Regions from separate parts of the Homo sapiens genome. Here regions 1 and 3 are each linked to region 2. The links are contacts of gene promoters, found by promoter capture Hi-C in human tissues and cell types (Jung and others, 2019). All regions are on one chromosome and are shown on one strand. Each heading gives the region's core, a stretch centred on a gene start or on the middle of the fragment in contact. The rest is flanking DNA. Distances are from core to core; before and after follow the strand shown. Region 1 overlaps ZNF559-ZNF177 (ZNF559-ZNF177 readthrough). Region 2 holds the start of ZNF560 (zinc finger protein 560). Region 3 has its middle 29 kb from the start of ZNF699.

Evidence for each region. Contacts are between HindIII fragments. The study calls those that stand out against the background at their distance.
Region 1: a contact is called between a fragment that was not itself captured here and the fragment with the promoter of ZNF560 in region 2, in 3 of the 25 tissues and cell types used here (adrenal gland, aorta and small bowel).
Region 3: a contact is called between a fragment that was not itself captured here and the fragment with the promoter of ZNF560 in region 2, in 7 of the 25 tissues and cell types used here (H1 embryonic stem cells, IMR-90 fibroblasts, lymphoblastoid cells and 4 more).

Annotation. Positions count from the first base shown.
Region 1 is chr19:9,365,492-9,369,410 of GRCh38, forward strand. The region is part of intron 7 of ZNF559-ZNF177 (ZNF559-ZNF177 readthrough); the gene reads left to right. The region is part of intron 2 of ZNF177 (zinc finger protein 177); the gene reads left to right. Among named protein-coding and RNA genes, the nearest start is that of ZNF177, 4.4 kb to the left of the region's middle. The HindIII fragment of the contact is 4,787 bases long and covers 1-3,899 here.
Region 2 is chr19:9,496,944-9,501,054 of GRCh38, forward strand. It overlaps ZNF560 (zinc finger protein 560), which reads right to left and starts at 1,673. Exons shown (of 10, transcript NM_152476.3): 1 at 1,595-1,673; 2 at 1,185-1,272. The HindIII fragment of the contact is 15,358 bases long and covers 1-4,111 here.
Region 3 is chr19:9,278,327-9,282,513 of GRCh38, forward strand. It overlaps the pseudogene OR7H1P. Among named protein-coding and RNA genes, the nearest start is that of ZNF699, 29 kb to the right of the region's middle. The HindIII fragment of the contact is 5,089 bases long and covers 129-4,187 here.

The DNA of each region.
Region 1 (3,919 bases), core at 256-2,755, 130 kb before region 2:
AAAGCGGAGAAGGGTAGACACATGGAGAGAAGGGGGTCAGGGGGTTCTTGCCCCCAGAAAAGCAGTACTTGCCGCTAAGGGTGAAGGACCAAGGCAGGCATCCCCACGTGGTCAGACACCTCTGAAATGTGGGTGAATAATCAGGCAGGCGTCCCCGCATGATTAAACACCAAGGGAAGACTGTCTTCCCGAGTCCATGACCGGCGCCGGAGTTTTGGGTCCATGGATAAAACACGTCTCCTGTCTACGAGAAAAGGAAAGGAACTGAAATTGAGAGAAGGGAGAGATTGAAGTGTGGCGCCAAGATTGAAATGAGAAAGAGGTTGAGGGATAGTAAGAGAGGTTGGAGAAGAGAGTAAAAAGAGGCCACTTACCTGATTTAAAATTGGATTGATGTTCCTTGGCTGGTCGGTCTGAGGACCTGAGGTCATAGGTGGATCTTTCTCACAGAGCAAAGAGCAGGAGGATAGGGGATTGATCTCCCAAGGGAGGTCCCCAGATCTGAGTCACAGCACCAAATCTACCTCTGTCGCCAGGCTAGAGTGCAGTGGCGCAATCTCGGCTCACTGCAACCTCTGCCTCCCGGGTTCAAGTGATTCTCCTGCCTCAGCCTCCCAAGTAGCTAGGATTACAGGCATGCTCCACCACACCCGGCTAATTTTTGTATTTTTAGTAGAGACGTTCTTTCACCATGTTGGCCAGAGTGGTCTGGATCTCCTGACCTCGTGATGCGCCCACCTTGGCTTCCCAAAGTGCTGGGACTACAGGCGTGAGCCACCGTGCCTAGCCTCATTCCTTTTTTTAATGAGACAAGGTCTTTCTCTGTCACCCAGGCTGGAGTGCCGTGGTGCCCTCGACCTCCCTAGCTCGGCCTTCCACCTTAGCCTCCCGAGTAGGTAGGACCACAGGTGTGGGCCACCAAGCCTGGCTATTTTTTTAAATTTTTGGTAGAGATGAGATCTCACTGTGTTACCAGGCTGGTCTGAACTCCTGGGTTAATGTGATCCACCCACTACAGCCTCCCTAAGTGCTGAGGATTACAGGCATGAGTCACCATGCCTGGCCTTCATTTTCTATTGTCAAATGATAGTCCATTGTATGGATATACCACATTTTCATTTATCCGTTCATCGGTAGATAGACATTTGGGTTGTTTCTCCTTTTTGGCTAATATGAATAATGCTGCTGTGAATATTTCTCTTGGGTATATACCTAGGAGTGGAATGCCTTGTTCATGAGACGAACTTTTATGTTTAATCTTCTGGTAAAATGCTAGGCTGTTTGCCAACGTGGCAGCACCACTTCCCACTTCACTCCCCTCCACAAAAAAACAAGAGAATTTCTCCACATCCTCATCCACACTTGTCTTTTTAATTACACTCACCTTAATGTGTGAAGTGGTATCTTAATGTGGTTTTGATTTGCATTTCCCTGGTGTCTAATGATGTTCAGCATCTTTTCATGTGCAGTTGACCTTTTTATCTTTAGAAAAATGTACATTCAGATCATTTGCCCATCTTTGAATTGTGTTTTCAAAAGTCAGCTGAGGCTGGGCGTGGTGGCTCACGCCTGTAATCCCAGCACTTTGGGAGGCCCAGGCGGGCGGATCATGAGGTCAGCAGATCAAGACCATCCTGGCTAACACGGTGAAACCCCGTCTCTACTAAAAATACAAAAACATAGCTGGGTGTGGTGGCACGCGTCTGTAGTCCCAGCTACTTGGGAGGCTGAGGCAGGAGAATCACCTGAACCTGGCGAGGTTGCAGTGAGCAGAGATCGCACCACTGCACTCCAGCCTGGGAAACAGACCAAGAGTGTCTCAAAAAAAAAATAAAAATAAAAATAAATAAGCTGGCTGAATTAAATTCAGCCCGAAAGTTTTCAGGTTGAAAAAATTTATTTTTGAAATCATTATGTGATACTGGTTTTTATCACTTTGAGTTGATCATACAATTTTTCTTTTGCTCTATTAATGAAGCAAATTATATTGATTTTCTAATAGCAAGCATCTCTTGCATTCCTCTGGTAAACCTAACTTAATTCTGTTGTACTATATTTCCTATTTATTGACATTTTTTGTTTGGACTTATTTTCCTTAGAATATCTGAATCTATGTTGAAATTTGCCTATAATTTTGTTTACTTAAAGTGGCCTTGTCATGTTTGATATCAGTATGCCAATCTCAAAGAATATTCTTCCTTTTATACTCTTAATCACGGTAATCCCTTTGATAAGTTAAACTGTTTTGTGAAATTAGTTTAAAAGTGACCATATTTTTTTCCCTTGTAATATTGTAAACTGCTGTTAATAGAATAACCAAAGGCAAACATGACATTTTGAACCATACACAATTCTGGGGTTTGCATAAAGGCTATATTAAATAAAACCTTCCAGATACCCAGCTCTTGCCTATAGAGTGGATAAGTTATCTATACCTGAAATAATGCAAACATTAGTGACAAATTACATTGAAGTGTAGTTTAAGTAACCAGTCTTCATAAATATGCCTAATCTCTGGAATATTTTCATCCAGACTGGAATTCTTTCTTCTTTGAGTGGCATAACTGACTGATAAAGCCTTTGAGCATGGTGTTTTTTGGTGAAAACCTAAATAATCTAGTTTTGTTTTCTGTTTTAAAAGAATATCTGGGCAGTGAGTTAAGCTGGGAAGACCTAGCACCTTGCTGACGGGATCAGTCTAGATTCTTCTTTTATATTTTTTAAATTGTGGTAAAATACCTAAAGCCAAATTTGCCATTTTAATCATTTTTAAATGTACAAGTCAGTGGCATTCATTGCATTCACAGTGTTACTCAACCATCACCAGCTAGTTCTTTTTATTGTAATTTCTACACAGTTTTGGTAAGTTGTATTTCTGTAGGAATCAATTTATTTCCTGAAAGTTTTGAATTTGATTAAAGTTATTCATGTCTTGTTAATCTCTGCAACATTTGTAGTTGTGTTTTTCTCCTTTTGTCTTTGAAGAATTTTGCCCGATTTTTTTCCTAGTAGTTTTCAAAGAACCAGTTTGTAGCTTGAGTGATACTGTTGTTTTCTAGTTCATCATCGTATTTTCTGCTCTTCCCGTTCCAGCTGCTTAAGTTAATTTTTAAGTTCACTTCTTTTCTAATATAAACATATAAAGCTTATTTTTTTCCTAAGGACCAGTTTAGCTACATTCTACAAGTTGTGGTACTTAGAACTAATCAATAACCATAGTATTATGTATTTTCTAATTCAATTCTTTTATAAAAGCATAAGTTATTTGGAAGTGTGATGTTTTCTGAATTCCAAATGTGTTACTTTTTTCTGTTTGCTTGAAAAATATGAAACCACTAATATTCAACCATATTTTAAAACTACCAAAACACCCATTTCATATAGTTCAATGTAATCTCGTTATTAACTTACAACTTAGTTACATTGTAATTAAGACATGTCAGAGAACATGTTTGTATACCAAATCTTTTTCTAAGTTTTAATTTTTGTGGGCACATAGTAGGTATATATATTTAAGGGGCCCATGAGATGTTTTATATACCAAATTTGGAAGGTTTAAGACTGGCTTTACAGTATATTCACCATACAGTATGGTCAGTTTTTATAAACACTTCATGTGTGCTTCAAGAATCTATGTATACTCCATACATTCAGTAGTGTCCCTCAGTGTGCTAGATTAAGCATACTCATTGTGTTGTTCAAATCTTCATATCCTTTTTTTCATATGATCTTTCTATTGCTGAGCAGTGTTTGAAAGTCTTATAGTGATGATTTGTGTTATTTATCCTTTAATTGTGCTAGCTTCTGCTTTATAAGTTTTATGAGACTAGAATTTTATATCTTCCTAATTGGTACTTTACATCCTCATGTCATTACCTCTAATAGTGCCTTTTGTCTCAAAATCTATGAAATTAATTTA
Region 2 (4,111 bases), core at 423-2,922:
ATAGAATGAAATCCTGTCATTTTCAACAACGTAGATAGAACTGGAGGACAGTACGTTAAGTGAAATAAACCAGGCACAGAAACACAAAGTTGGGCGTGGTAAGCGGTGGTTGCAGTGAGCCAATATCATGCCACCGCACTCCAGCCTGGGCAACAAGGCAACATCCTGCCTCAAAAAAACTCTCAAAAAAAAAAAATCTTGAATAGAGCTCAGATCCAAAAACATTCCGTTATATTTTAGAAGAATTTGGAGAATTTTCATTTATTATACATAGTAAATATTAGATAACATTATTATTTTTAATTTTCTTGATGCAAATAGTATTACGGTTTTAGTAAAACAACACTCTTATCATTGAGTCAGGCATTACCCACTACTTAAATGTCGAGCTTACCATCCTGGCTATCACGGTGAAACCCCATCTCTACAAAAATACAAAAAATTATCCGGGCACGGTGGCACACCCCTGTAATTACAGCCACTTGGGAAGCTGAGGCAGGAGAATCGCTTGAACCCGGGAGGCAGAGGTTGCAGTGAGGCGAGATCGCGCCACTGCACTCCAGCCTGGGCGACACAGCTAGACCCCCTCTCAAAAAAAAAAAAAAAAAAAAAATGTCGAGCTTCATCTCTGCAATGAATTTCCCATTGACTCTCAAACTGTTCACCATAAAATTTATTTACGAGACGGCGAATACACAAAACGCTAAAAAACAGGTGCAGCTACAATGGATATTTATTCGTGGTACTGGATGGTCAACATACCCATAGGTTTAAGTTTTTTCGAAAAAAAATGCGGGAAAAATACACTTAGTACAGTCATCCTGTTAATGGTAAATTCGATTATTCTAGTATTAGTGTGTAAACCCTCCATCCTTTCTTCCAGGAAGCCTGGTTATGAAGCTCTTTGGAGACGTACAGAGCTAGGAACTTCAGATGAAAAGAATGGCTGAGTATTCTTAGGTTTCTTTAGTAGAAAGACTCGCGGTCTACAAACGTTTATATGCACATGCAGAAATACGCACACCCTAGACAACTAAGAAAGCACCTTTCTACCGGAACGTAATGTGTCAATAAAAAATATACAGGTTTCACAAAGGCAAAATGCCAAAATCTCACATGAAACACTCGTTTGCATAAAAAAGGAAGCAGCTGCCCCCTTAAACCAACTTTTTCCCAATGCTCACCCGAACACGGTGGAGTCGCCAGGTCCGTGGGGCTACAGGATCTTGGGGACGGAGTCAATCGAACGCGAACGGCAAAATTCTTTTCCCTCTGAAACACAATTCACAAACGTTGCCTTGGAGACTTATTTTTTAAGGCCTCAGAACGCTTGGACACTTTTGAAGACGGGAACACACGGCTGAAAACAGCCCTCGGACGCGCCCATACTGCACTTCCCACCCGGCTCCTCTAGGGGACCGAAGGTCCCAATGGCCTCTTCGACGTGGCCTCACCCGATGGCTCCGCGACTCCTGCGGACTCCTGTGGAGTGGTCCAGGCCTCTGTAAGGAGGTTCCTCGATTACCCTGGGTCGATTGTGACCTCTGCCACCCCCCGAAACACCGCCCAACCCACTAGTCCACACGAGCCTCACCAAAGTAGTGAACGACCAGACAACACAAAGGAAAAAGTGGCTCTGAGGAAACAGGCGCCAGCGACCAAAAGAGAGAACTGGCGCGCCGCAACGTCACTTCCGTTTGGGGCATTGGAAGGGGCGTGGCTCGTTGTGTGGGCAGTTGGACAGGATGGAACTCTTCAGGATTCTAGTTTCCCTCCGCGTGGGTGCGGAGGTATCAAGGGGTCGGCTCAGTGCCTGGGTGGGCAAGAGAGAAATGGACCCACAGAGAAAGGTGGGGGTTAAATCAGGGCTGTGGGCGGGGCCCATGCCCGGGGGCGGGGCTGGAGGTGGGACCAGACCCAGCCGGTGGCTTCGGTGGCAGAATGGACCAGGAAGGCGAAACGTCGGGCGATGGACTCGCCCCTCAGGATGCTCATTAGAAACTTTCCCCACGTTCCTGGACCCCTTTCAGGATTCTCTCCAGTTGATAACCTGCCAATCCACAAAATGGCCTGCTTCCTGCATTCGATCACGTCTTTAGAACTTTATTTTCTCTTATTTCTTTTTATTTATCTGACCTTGCTAAACTCTAATCATTGATTCCTCTGCGTTTTCAGTTATCGATACTTTCTGTAAATATTGCAATTTTTTTCTTTTCTTTCTTTTTTCTTTTCTTTTCTTTTTTTCTTCGAGGTAGGGTCTGGCTCGGTTGCCAAGGCTGGAATGCAGTGGTAGGAACACGGCTCACTGCAGTCTCCACCTCTCCAGGCTCAAGCCATCCTTCCACCTCAGCCTCCCGAGTAGCTGGGACCACGGGCGCACCGCACCCGGCTAATTTTTGTATTATTATTATTATCATCATTATTATTATTTTGTAGAGACAGGATCTAACCATGTTGCCCAGGCTGGTCTGGAACTCCTGGGCTCAAGTGATCTGCCCGCCCTGCACTCCCGAAGTGGGATTACAGGCGTGAGCCATCATGCACCATGCCTGGCCTTATTGTATTTTTTTTTCTTCTTCAACAATGTATTTGTTACTATTTCTCAAATCTTATCAAATGATTCAAAGCCTCCTGTACTACTTTATGAAATAACACTGATACCAGGCATTCTTCACTTATTCTGTGCAGAAAAAGAAAGGACTGTTGGACTTGTGGTAGAGATTTAGTTGAATCTTCGGGTTATATTGGTATCTTTATAATACTGAGTCTTCCTATGTGTGAATATACAATATCTCTCTATTTAGGTCTTCTTTAAACTCTTTCAGTAATGTTTTGAAATTTTCAGTTTACAAATATTTTACCTCTTGGGGTAAAGTTATTCCCATGTAACTTATTTGTAAAAGGGATCACATTCTCAGTTTCCTTTTCTGATTGTTCATTGCTGGTGTATAGATACAAAACTAATTTTCATCTCTTGATGTTGTACTGTGCAACTTTACGGAATTTATTACAAGCTCTGCTAGTTTTCTTGTAGATTCTTCAAAATTCTCTATATATCAAATATCACCTATAAATATATTTTTATTTGTTCTATTCTAATTGAGAAACCTTTTATTTTATTTTCTTGTGTAATTGCTCTGGCTAGAATTTCCTGTAGAGGCTGGGCACGGTGGCTCACTCCTGTAATCCCAACATTTTGGGAGGCCGAGGTGGGTGGATCACCTGAGGTCAGGAGTTCAAGACCAGCCTGACCAACATGGTGAAACCCCGTCTCTACTAAAGATACAAAAAATTAGCCAGGCGTGGTGGTTGGCACCTGTAATCCCAGCTACTCGGGAGGCTGAGGCAGGAGAATCACTTGAACCTGGGAGGCGGAGGTTACGGAGTTTGCAGTGAGTGGAGATGGCTCCATTGCACTCCAGCCTGGGTGACAAGAGCAAAACTTCATCTCAAAAAAAAAAAAAAAAAAAGAATTTCCTGTAGAATGTTGAATAACAATAGAAAAATCAGACATCTTTCTCTCCTTCCTGGTCTTAGGGAGAATTTTCAGGCATTCACTATTGAATATCACGTTAGCTGTGTTTTCGTAAGTGCGTTTTGTCACGTTGAATAAACTCCCTTCTGTTTCTAGTTTTCTTAATTTTTTTTTTGAGACAATCTCGCTCTGTCACCCAGGCTGGAGTGCAGTGGCATGATCTTGGCTCACTGCAACCTCCACCTCCCGGGTTCAAGCAATTCTCTGCCTCAGCCTCCCAAGTAGGTGGGCACTCCCAAGTGCCCACCACAACACCTGGCTAATTTTTTTGTATTTTTAGTAGAGACGGGGTTTCACCAGCTTGGCCAGGCTGGTCTCCAACTCCTGACCTCATGATCCACCTGCCTTGGCCACCCAAAGTGCTGGGATTACAGGTGTGAGCCACCACGCCTGGCCAGTTTTCTTAATTTTTATCAAGGAAAAGTGTTGGGTTTCATCAAATGCCTTTCCTGCATTAGTTGAGGTGATTCTGTGGGATTTTTTGTCTTTTGTACTAATGTGAAGAATTACATTTTTTAAATTTCCTTTTGTTGAACCAACCTTGCATTCCTAGATAAATCTCACTAGTCATGGTGT
Region 3 (4,187 bases), core at 1,423-3,922, 220 kb before region 2:
TTGTAGAGACAGGGTCTTGCTATGTTGCCCAGGCTGGTCCAGAATTTCTTTAGCTCACTGCTGCTACCTCTGCCAACTCAGAAGCCCAGGACCAATGTCCCCGTCATTGAGCATACAGCATTCTCCCAAGCAGTGTTTCTAGGGTCCTCTTGATGTCCCTGTTCCGCAAGCAATAGATGAAGGGGTTCAGCATGGGGGTGACCACAGTGTACATGACCGAGGCCACCATGCCCCACCAGGAAGAGGACGATGCATTGGAACTAAGATACACACCAAGGCCTGTCCCATAGAATAAAGAAACCACAAACAGATGAGATCCACAGGTAGAAAAGGCTTTGTGTTTCCCATCTGTGGATGAGATTCTCAGGATGTAGGAGACAATTTGGGTGTAGGAGAAAAGGATCCCTGAGAAGGGCACAAAGTCCAGAAGGCCGGCCACCACGTAGAGCAGGATGTAATTGACATGTGTGTCTGAGCAGGTAAGCCTGAGGACCTGAGCAAGCTCACAGTAAAAGTGCTGAATGACTCAACTGGTGCAGAAGGACACCCGCAGCACCAACAGACTCTGGATCAGGGAGTATGACAAGCTGAGGAACCAGGACACAAGAACCAGCAGGCCACAGAGGCAGGGGTTCCTGGTGACACAGTAGTACAGGGGGTGACAGATGGCCACATACCGGTCATAGGCCATCACGGTGAGGAGAAATGTGTCCATGCCTCCAAAAACCATGAAAAACATACATCTGGGCGATGCAGTCTGCATAGCTGATGGCATTGCTCTGCACCTGGATGTTCACCAGCATCTTGGGGACTGCGGTGGAGGTGAAACCGATGTCAGCCAGGGACAGATTGGAGAGGAAGAAGTACCTGGGGGTGTGGAGGTGGGAGTCAGAGCTGATGGCCAGGATGATGAGCAGGTTCCCCAGAACGGTGACCAGGTACATGGACAGAAACAGTGCAAAGAGCAACTGTTGATCCTCTAGGTCTTGGGAAAATCCCAGGAGTAAAAATTCTGAAACTCTTGTTTGATTTCCCAAGTCCATGTTGCTGACACATCAGCTAGACAGTTAAGGAAGGGAAGAAACATGAAATAGATGCTGAACAGGCTCCAAAATCTCTCTGCTTTTTTATTTCTTGAGGTGAATAATTGGATACAAAAGCTTTAAAATAGCAAAACTTAGGAATCCTACATTCTGTCATTTGTTATAGGCAACATTTCATAACGTTGACTAACCCCTGTTCATTGGCCTCTCAGAGGCTTACCCATTCCCTTTTTCTCTGCTTTAGAATCATCAAATCTACCAAGAGCAACTTTAGACCTTAGAGATAAAATGGTCTGCACCTGCTCTAACACATATAAGGTTCAGTGAACTTAAGAAAAGGTCAGGGTCATCTTCCTTGTCTAAGACACAACTGAGACTGAAGAAGGTCAGACAACTATGTCTGAGCAGTGAGAAAATATGAAAGCAGAGATAATAGCTAGACAAAATATTGCAAGATGAGTGGATTTAGGTTTTCAAGGAAGGAAAGAGGAAGGGAGGGAGGGAAGGAGGAAGGAAGGGAAGGAAGGAAAGAAGGAAGGAAGGAAAGGAAGAAAGGAAGGAAGGAAGGAAGGAAGGAAGGAAGGAAGGAAGGAAGGAAGGAAGGGTTACTTGTTGCCTTAAGTCCCACTTGGAATTATGGTGGCAGCCAAATTCTGATTCAAATAGGTCATGACATTACCAGTAATAACATTCATCTTAAGAAGCTGACCGCACATTAAAAACTTTCTACCTTAGAACCAGGGTTTCAAAATTAGAGACCAGAAAGATACAGTCATTTGACACTTATATGATTCTCTTTTTCCATCCACATAATAAATATGTCCTAATCTGTTTCTAGTGTCTAGTGTTGGTGCACAATTTTTTTTGTTGTTGTTGGGTTTTTGTTTGTTTTCTTTTCTTTTGAGACAGAGTCTTGAGCTGTCACCCAGGCTGGAGAGTTCAGTGGCGCAATCTCGGCTCACTATAACCTCTGCCTCCCGGGTTCAAACAATTCTCCTGCCTCAGCCTCCTGAGTAGCTGGGATTACAGGTGTGCACCACCATGCCCAGCTAGTTTTTGTAAAAATACAAAACTAACTAGCTAGTTTTTTACAAAAACTAGTTAGTTTTACCATGTTGGCCAGGCTGGTCTTCAACTCCCAACCTCAGGTGATCTGCCCACCTCGGCCTCCCAAAGTGCTGGGATTACAGGCATGAGCCACAGCACGTGGCCTGGTGCATAATTTTTGTTGAGCCGTGCTGGGAAGTACAGAAGAATTGAACTAGGTTGACAACTAGGTTGTCAGTCACTGAAAAAGTGCTAACAGCCATTCTGCAAGAGGGTCTTCTTTGGGCCAGGCTAAGTGTTAGCTGTTGGGGATACAAAGATTAATGATGTGGTCTTTTTTTTCTTATGGTTCCACCTTCCAGAAGATGGATTCAGAAACAGATCATTGTAACACAGTGAATTAAGTGCTAAAATAAAACGATGTACAGAGTGGAGTACAGAGAGGAACCCTCAATCCAGCCTGGAGTAATGCATTCAGGGAAGGAGTCCTGGAGGAAGGAATACCTGGGCAAGGAGTTACCCAGGTGAATGGTTGCACAGGGGCATTTCTGGCAGAGATATAAGCAAGGGAATAAGCCTAGAAGCAAGAAGCAGCATGGGACAGAGTTCTCTTAGCCCTTTGCTGCTGCTTAAGTACAAAGTGTTAGATAGAAACGATGAGGATGATGTTGGAGAGGTGGGCAGGGATGACATGTCTAAGAACTTTGAAAAGTATAATCCATAAAGGATGGGGCTGTGAAGGAACGGCAATCAAAGGAGTAACATGATAGGAATTGCAATTCTCCCTGGGGCCTGGAGGGAAAGATGGATTTAGGGCAGGCAAAACTAAGGATAAGGGAACAGGGTTGGGGATTCTTCATATCATTGGAATTGAGGGGAACAACTCAGGAATATTTTTGCAGAAGAAATACAAAGGCCAGGAGAGGTAAAGGAATGAGGTCAATGTCTTGCTAACAATCTCAGCTTAAGGATGAGACTTGACCTTCAAGTGAAATGAAGGGAATTATGGAAAAGAATCCTGCAGGTTTCAATGCTTCCCTCGTGTTCCCCAGAGGATACGATGTCAAGAGGAGACTGGATGTTGGGCTTGCCTGAGCCCTTCACTTTCCCTCACTCACCCATCGTACCCTAGTTGTTATACACCATGGCCTTCCATTCCAGGGAACACAGACGCTTGTCTCTTGAAGGTGTCTACTTAGAATCATGGATAAGGGTAAAGAAGGATGGGGAAGGATAAGTCTTTCTGGAGAGGCAGGAGATGTTTCCAAGCAAGTGAGGGTCACAGAGAAGAATTCAGAGAGGCTTGATCTAGGCTGAGGGCCTCTGAAGTTCTTGGGTCAGGTAGTAGGTGAAAAGAACTAGAAGTGACCAGGACTTCACTGCAAGGCACCTACAGCTCCTACTGAAACCTGCAGGATTCTTTTCCATAATTCCCTTCATTTCACTTGAAGTCAAGTCTCGTCCTTAAGCTGAGATTGTTAGCAAGACATTGACCTCATTCCTTTACCTCTCCTGGCCTTTGTTTTTCTTCTGCAAAAATATTCCTGAGTTGTTCCCCTCAATTCCAATGATATGAGGAATCCCCAACCCTGTTTCCTTGTCCTTAGTTTTGCCTGCCCTAAATCCATCTTTCCCTCCAGGCCCCAGGGAGAATTGCAATTCCTATCATGTACCTTGGAGCATCCATTTGTACAATGCAGATTGGTCACTCCAAGACCACACAGAGTGATCCAGGGCAGCGCTAAGATATCAAACAGTGCCCCAGGCCAACAAAGAGTAGCCCTTCCTATAACCTCCATCAGTCATCTACCCAAGTAATATACAGGCAAAGTTAAAGCTCGCTATACAATGGCTATTTAAGCAAGTAGTCTAGCCATTCTCCCTTCCAAGAAATCAGCCTCAACAGCCCCTTCTCCGTGGACATCACAGGGTTTCTCCTGCCCTATGATTAACAAGTCAATGCCTTTCCCCTCAATCATCTCTTTTCCCTATTTCCCTCAACACTTACTGAGCTATGAAGGTTTGACAATGTGGACCCACCACAGGAGCCACCTTGTGTCCAGAATTGGTGGGTTCTTGGTCTCACTGACTTCAAGA